2 separate regions of the Homo sapiens genome follow, and region 1 is linked to region 2. Evidence: promoter capture Hi-C in 16 types of primary human blood cells and fetal thymus (Javierre and others, 2016). All regions are on one chromosome and are shown on one strand. Each heading gives the region's core, a stretch centred on a gene start or on the middle of the fragment in contact. The rest is flanking DNA. Distances are from core to core; before and after follow the strand shown. Region 1 overlaps DHX8 (DEAH-box helicase 8). Region 2 holds the start of DUSP3 (dual specificity phosphatase 3).

Region 1 (3,954 bases), core at 629-3,128, 270 kb after region 2:
GTGTAGCCTGCCTCCGCCAGGTACTGGGTGATCTGTGTTGTCTTTCCAGATCCTGTCTCACCAATGACAATCAGGATCTGATTGTCATGGACGGCCTGAAAGCAACAGAATATAAATATGGTCATTAAAATCTGCCAGAATATAAATATGGTCATTAAACAGAATATAAATATGGTCATTAAAATCTACATTACTCTGGAATAAAATAATTACTATATTCTAACACCAAAGAAAAGAGGAATATACACATATAGTTAAAGAAGTCAACAATGAATTTAAAAGATACATAAAAAATGTTCCTTCCCACTGTAACTCCCAAATTTCTATATCTTTCCCCAAAAGTTATTTCTTATTTCTACGTTGTTTGTAACAGCCAAGGATTACAATCAACGATGTTTCTATGGATATAGGACTAGTTAAATAAACCAGAGCCTATCCAAATAATACAGCCCATAAAAAAAGGCTTTTTTTTTTTTTTTGAGATGAAGTCTCACTCTGTCGCCCATGCTGGAGTGCAGTGGCATGATCTCAGCTCATTGCAACCTCCACCTTCCGGATTCAAGTGATTCTCCTGCCTCAGCCTCCCAAGTAGCTGGGACTGCAAGTGCCCGCCAGCACGCCCGGCTAATTTTTGTACTTTTAGTAGAGACAGGGTTTCACCATGTTGGCCAGGCTGGTCTCGAACTCCTGACCTCAGGTGATCCGCCCGCCTTGGCCTCCCAAAGTATTGGGATTACAGGTGTGAGCCACTGTGCCTGGCCTGGCAATTTTTTTTGTTTGTTTGTTTAAGAAGGCCAGGCACAGTGGCTCATGCCTGTAATCCTAGCACTTTGGGAGGCCAAGGAGGGAGGATTGCTTGAGTCCAGGAGTTCAAGACCAGCCTGGACAATATAGTGAGACCGCATCTCTACAAAAAATACAAAAAACTAGCTGAGCATGATGGTGTATGCCTTGTAGTCCCATCTACTTGGGAGTCTGAGGTGGGAAGATCACTTGAGCCCAGGAGGTAGAGGTTGCAGTGAGCTGAGATCAAGCCACTGTACTCCAGCCTGCACAAAGCGAGACTCTGTCACACACACATACACACACACACACACAAATCTCTGAGATATATCATTAAGTGGAAAAAGATGTAGAACAGTGTATATAATATCACTGCCACCTGTAAACACACACAGTACTCATATAAAATGTGTGTGCGTGTGTGTGCATATATTTGTACTTGCTTGTATACATATAAGATATTGTTGAAAGGATTCACTAGAAACTAGTAAACCTGATTACCTCAAGGAAGACTCGGTGGTCTTAAAATCAGAACTCCAGAATATAGAGTACCGAAGCACTCTATGAGTTGCCCATATGAGTTTATTGACTGAGTATCCTCATTTTTAATTACTGAACAGAGCTGTTGGTCCATGCAACACAATACTCTGCCCACTTGGAAACTGTTCTAGGGGCCCCAGGAAAAAGAAGATATACAGACACATACATAAGTATGTGTGTCTGTACACGCACACACAAACATTTGTGATATGGGGTCTCACTTGGTCGCCCAGGCTGGAGTGCAGTGGTGTGATTGCAGTTCACTGTAGCCGCGACCTCTCAGGCTCAAGCAATCCTCTTATCTCAGCCTCCCGAGTAGCTGGGATTACAGGCATGGACCACCACACCCAGGTAATTTTTTTTTTTTTAGACAGAGTCTCTCTCTGTAGCCAGGCTGGAGTGCAGCGGCGTGATCTTGACTCACTGCAACCTCCGACTCCCTGATTCAAGCGATTCTCCTGCCTCAGACTCCAGAGTAGCTGGGATTATAGGCATGCGCCACCACGCCCAGCTAATTTTTTGTATTTTTAGTAGAGACAAGGTTTCACCGTGTTGGCCAGGATGGTCTCGAACTCCTGAACTTGTGATCCGCCCACCTTTGCCTCCCAAAGTGCCGGATTACAGGTGTGGGCCACCACGCCCCACCAAATTTTTTATTTTTTGTAGAGACAAGATTCCCTATGTTGCCTCAGGCTGGTTTCAAACTCCTAGGCTCAAGTGATCCTCCTGCCTTGGCCTCTGATGTGCTGGGATTATAGGCATCCACTACCGCGCCCAGCCCCATTTAAAAAAAAAGTATTTAGAAAGTTTTATCCTTCTTTCTTAACTCTTTTGGATGAGCCACTTCAAGTAGGCACATACTTGTCCCGTTAGTTTCAGTTTAAAAATATCACCCCTCTTTTAGACAATAACCCTACTCCCCACCAATACATCATAAAAGTCTTCTCACCTGGACCAATTGCTCCTTCAGTTTGTAGATGGGCAGGCTCTCCCTCTGCTCAAGGATTGACATCTGGGTCTTTTTTCCGTAAGAGGCTTTGTTGCCCCCAAAGGCATGCTTCTTCCACTCAGGAATATCATTGGGCATCATCCCAATACCCCTCATGTTGGCAGCAATCTGTCTGCCTTCCGCTGGAAAGGAAAACAGGCAACTTAGTATTGTCCTCAAGCTACCTCAAGATGTACCAGGAAAAAAATAAAATGGCATGCGGGCACTGCACATGCAGCATCTCAATTCAGCGACCCGTGATCAAAAGTACTCAAAGAAACAAATTAATGTGAAGAAAAGAATATAGAAGGGGCAGCAGGGAATGGGAAAGAGACTGTAACAAGTGGTGCTACACACCTGTGATGTCAGAAAAAAGGTTAGTTGAGAGAAGTGAAGACCTGACTGCTTGACACTGGAATTATTTTTTTTTAGGTAGGGTCTTGCTCTGTCATCCAAGTGGGAGTGCAGTGGTGCAATCCTGACTCACTGCAGCCCCGACCTTCTGGGCTCAAGCGAGAAGAGGTCACTCTATGTTGCCAGGCTGGTCTCGAACTCCTGGGCTAAAGCAATCCACCCATCTCACCCTCCCAAAGTAATGGAATTACAGGTATGGCCACCATGCGCAGCACTCTCCCCTTTTTAAATAACTGCTATATCGAGATGTAATTCACAAACCATGTTACACTTTTTTTATTTTATTTTATTTTTTTGAGACAGGGTCTTGCTCTGTTTCCCAGGCTGGAGTGCAGTGACGCAATCACGGCTCACTGCAGCCTCAAATTCCTGGGTTCAAGGAATCCTCTCTCCTTGGCCTCCCAAAGTGCTGGGATTACAGGTATGAGCCACCAAGCCAGGTCTCCGTGTTACTCTTTTTAAGTGTTTAACTCAGTGTTTTACTGTATATTCATTAAGTTGTGCAACTATCCCCACTATTTAGAGTATTTTCATCATATCAGAAAGAAACCCTGTACCCATTAGCAGTTACTCCCCATTCCTCCCTTTTCCTTTCCCTTGGCAACCATTAGTCTACTTTCTATGTCTACGGGTTCTATTCTGGATACTTCATACAATATGTGGTCTGTTGTGCCTGGTTTCTCTCAGATTAATTTTTTTCTTTTTCTGAGACAGGGTCTGGCTCAGACGCCCAGCAGGCTGGAGTGCAGTGGCGAGATCTCAGCTCAGCAACCTCCACCTCCTGGGCTCAAGCAATCCTCCCACGTTAGCCTCCTGAGTAGCTGGGAATACAGGTGCACGTGATTACACACGGCTAAACTTTTTTTTTTTTTTTTTAGATGGAGTTTCGCAATTGTTGTCCAGGCTGGAGTGCAATGGCGTGATCTCGGCTCACTGCAACCTCCGCCTCCCAGGTTCAAGTGATTCTCTTGCCTCAGCCTCCCTAGCAGCTGGGATTACAGGTGCGTGCCACCACATCTGTTAATTTTTCTGTTTTTAGCACAGATGGGGTTTCACTATGTTGGCTAGGCTGGTCTCAAACTCCTGACCTCAGGTGATCCACCCGCCTCAGCCTCCCAAACTGCTGGGATTACAGGCATGAGCCACCATGCCTGGACTAATTTTTGTATTTTTTTAGAGACAGGGTTTCACCACATTGCCCAGCTTGGTTTCAAATTCCCCAACTCAAG
Region 2 (3,824 bases), core at 1,030-3,529:
CTTTAGGAAACAGACTGGAAGTCAATAAAATACATCTGCACATCTGCAAGCAGCAAGAACAAATACCTGTAGTTTGCTCAATTTTAAAATGTGATTTGTGTGCGCCACTGGAGGTTTGGTATCAACAGTAGGCTTCGCTAGAGAAGGGGGATAAAAGGGAACAATGTTACATCACAGGAATTCCAGTAGCGGCCTCAGAAAACCAGCACTAGACAATGTCCTTGACTAATGAACAATTTCGAATTAGGACCTTAATGCGACTCAAGAAGTTTGGTTTGATTTATCAAATGAACATCTCTGGAGAGTTTTGAGCAGAAACAAAAGAATAGTGAAAATAAAATTTACAGAGATAAATGTCCTTCTAATCCAATGAAAGAGCTTCTCTTCCAATCTTTTTCCAATATTATTAGCCTGTCTATTGGCTTCTGAAGTCTTATCCCCTTTCTAACGTACTTCGGCTTTAAGGAGTTTAAAGGAGTATTTCCATCCAGTGAACTCCCTGGTGGAAGATACATTTTGTTATTGGTGCTAATGCCCTCTTCCCCAAACTCAGCAGATAAGGCCATATCATCCCAAAGCTGTGACCTGGTCTGGTTTCCTGTTGATCTCTTTATGGGGTACCATTCCAAAATCCCTAATAGCAGTGTCCAGCCCAAACTGCCCACATACCTATTTGTATTCTATTCTTGTGAGATACGTAGTGGCCAAAGTCCAGTTTCTTTCTGAAGGTTGTGCTTTGCCTGTGATTAGAGACGATAACAGGGTAGGCCAGATAATCCAGGGAATTGTTCATCTTCTCTTCCTAGTCTCACTTCAGAAATGAGGTACCCAGACTCCTCTGTGAGGTGCCTAGCTGTCCCCATGACAAGCTGTCATAGTTACCCAGTTATGACATCAGGGACAGGTCCCGGGAAGGGAGTAGGAGCAGCAGAGCATGGCTGGCTGCCTCTGGGCTTGTGTTTTTAATGCTAACCTCGGCTCAAGTCAAGATGAAGGTCAAGGAACTCGAAAGCTTTCCCCGCTGCTTAGAATGCAGATGCTGCCAGCCAACACCAGAAGGAAAGAAGTGGTGCACCGGGAGGGGTGGGCAGGCACGGGGTGGGGTGAGGGATACAGAAATTCCAGCCTTGGTTACACATCTTGGGCTATCAGCTAAGTAGTCTCCACTGCAATAGCTCCCCTGAAGGTGCAAGACCACAAGTTTTGGAGGAGGAGAAAGTTGACCCTAATGATAATCGGATCCAATTCCTTTTGCAAATGAGGAAACTGAAGACCACAGCAGCAGCAACGTTACTCAAGAACCAAGTTGGTGGCAGGGCTGGGCTCAGGATGTGGGGTTCCTGAATTCAAGGCCAAATTTGCCCTTTTGCAGGAAGGAAACTGCCAGTTTTTCATGGCAGTAGGGGAGGGCAGCTTTCCTCCAGTACAGAGACTATCTTTTGTACTTAGTGGGAGTTCAGGAAATGCTGAGTGGCTTATGGTGGGCTGGCATCTGCTCCAGGAAGGGCTGCAGGAGTCTGATTTATCTCCACCCCAGCACAGGGTATAGCACCCACTGGGTGCTCAACGCATTTGTTGATGAAGGACTAACACCTATTGAGTGCTCGCCATGCAGTGCTGGGTGCCTTCTTTGAATGTCACATTTAACCCTTCCAGCAACCCTAGAATTAGGTACCATTACTATCCCGCTTTTTTTTTTTTTCCCTGCAAACAGGCTCAGGTTAAGTAATTCCTCAGAATTCCAAACCTGACTGCTTTTAAGCACGACGATGACTCTCAATGAATGTTGAAAGCAGATGCGCCCCAGAGTAGGGCTTCTCAGACTTTGACCGTAGGGACCTCCTGGGGTCCGTAAAATGTCCACTCTGATCCAGCAGGGCTGGGCTGGGGCGGGGATTCTGTCAAGCGCCCGGGTGGTGCCTCCACTGCAGGGAGCCGCTCACGAGCCGAACCCGGCGGTCCCTGTAATCATGAAAGACTGAAGCGACCCCTAGGTGTACCTCCGCCACGAAATGTTTATTGGGCCCTGCATTTAATTCAGGGAAGGAAGTTACCGCGCTTGCCAGTTTACAAAGATACACAAACGGCCTGGACCGGGATGGGGCGAGGACCCCTGAGACTCCAGGGCGGTGGCGTCTTCCCCCCGGGACGCGCCCAGGAGTGGCGCGCGGGGCCCCCGCGTCACGGCGCCCGCGCTCCGCAGCTCCCGGAGCCCGGCGGGCCCGCCCCAGGGGCGGGACGGGGCGGCTCCCGGCGCGAGCCCCCGCCCAGCTGATCCGCCGCTCTCCGCCTCGCTTGCTCCTGCCGGGCGTGCAGGGCCCCGCCGCCGCCATGTCGGGCTCGTTCGAGCTCTCGGTGCAGGATCTCAACGACCTGCTCTCGGACGGCAGCGGCTGCTACAGCCTCCCGAGCCAGCCCTGCAACGAGGTCACCCCGCGGATCTACGTGGGCAACGCGTGAGTCCCTTTCGCGAGCCCGGCCCCGCCGTCCCTCTCGGGACGCCCCGCCCACCCGAGGCTGGGGTCGGGGTGTCGCGAGTCTTGGGTTGGGGGAGCCCGGGCGCGATGGCCCCTCCGGGAGCCACAGCGGGGGCTTGGGAGGGGCCTGGAGTCGACGCCTACCCCCGCGCGTGGGGCCAAGGAACTGGAACCCTGCCTGGCCGGGCGCGGCCCTTCCCCGTGGCGGGGTGCACGGAGCCCGGGTGGCGCCTGCCCGGGTCCCAGCCGCCACCCGCTTGGGGCTTGGCCTTGGGCGGGGTCGGGGCTACCATGTTCACTTAACAGGTGACCCTCGGTCGCCCGGCCGGTCTCCTGCCCGCGCGTCATGTGACAGCTGCCTGGTTCTGCAGTGAGGTCACCGCGGAATGTCTGCCTTCGCCGCCATGGCAACGGGCCGACGTCACAATTCGGGCATGGAATTTTCCCGGCCCGGCAGTCCCGGATCAGGGAACCTAAACACCCCAAATGAGCGAGTCCGGGGAGCTGGGCCGGGATTTCCAGGCCCCCACCTTCCAGATGTGATTTGATTTACAGGAGATTCTAGAACGGTCCAGTGATAACCCCCCTAAGGACCTGAGCCACCACCTAGAAAAGGCTCTTGACCTTTCACCCCCAGGCTCTGTCACCCAGGCTGGAGTGCAATGGCGAGATCTCGGCTCACTGCAACCTCTGCCTCCTGGGTTCAAGCAATTCTCCTGCCTCAGCCTCCCGAGTAGCTGGGATTACAGGCGCCCGCCACCACGCCTGGCTACTTTTTGTATTTTTAGTAGAGACGGGGTTTCACCATATTGGCCAGGCTGGTCTCTTGGCCAGGCTGGTCTCAAACTCCTGACCTCATGATCCGCCCACCTCGGCCTCCAAAAGTGCTGGGATTACAGGCGTGAGCCACCGCACCCGGACAGTAAGAGATTTTTTTTAATTTAAATTTTAAATTTTTTTTCTAGTAAGAATGTCTAATCAGCAGGAAAGAACCAGTGTTAACATTCTGAGATGTGAAATAGGAGCCTCAAGAAAGAATATATTAGCATGCCTGTACAGCCTTGGAAAGCCTCAAGTTGGATTTTCACGATACTCTGAGGACCCAGTTACCAAAATCCTAAGCTTCATGGCTCAGCCCAAGGATGGCATGTTGAAAACTCAAAACTAACCCTCCTCCCATTTTACAGAGGAGGAAATGGTGGCTCAGAGTGTGTGAGGGACTACAAGGACAGGGTCAATGTCTTGTTCATGTATGTATTTCCTGACCTCCGCTATGACCTGCTGTTTAGCCTGCCAAGGACTGCCACGGAAATGGGGGTCATCATGGAACTAGAAGGGGTCCATCAG

What was found. Contacts are between HindIII fragments. The CHiCAGO score rates a contact against its expected background, and 5 or more counts as called.
Region 1: a contact is called between a fragment that was not itself captured here and the fragment with the promoter of DUSP3 in region 2, in 1 of 17 cell types (endothelial precursors). The highest score is 7.4, in endothelial precursors.

The regions. Positions count from the first base shown.
Region 1 is chr17:43,503,144-43,507,097 of GRCh38, reverse strand. DHX8 (DEAH-box helicase 8) reads right to left here. Exons shown (of 23, transcript NM_004941.3): 12 at 2,273-2,454; 13 at 1-95. Among named protein-coding and RNA genes, the nearest start is that of DHX8, 21 kb to the right of the region's middle. The HindIII fragment of the contact is 6,640 bases long and covers 1-3,954 here.
Region 2 is chr17:43,777,432-43,781,255 of GRCh38, reverse strand. DUSP3 (dual specificity phosphatase 3) reads left to right here and starts at 2,279. Exons shown (of 3, transcript NM_004090.4): 1 at 2,279-2,456. The coding sequence starts at 2,332. CFAP97D1 (CFAP97 domain containing 1) reads right to left here and starts at 821. Exons shown (of 6, transcript NM_001136483.3): 1 at 670-821; 2 at 67-137. The coding sequence starts at 793. RefSeq lists a silencer at 2,099-2,788 and an enhancer at 2,721-3,015. The HindIII fragment of the contact is 2,587 bases long and covers 1,015-3,601 here.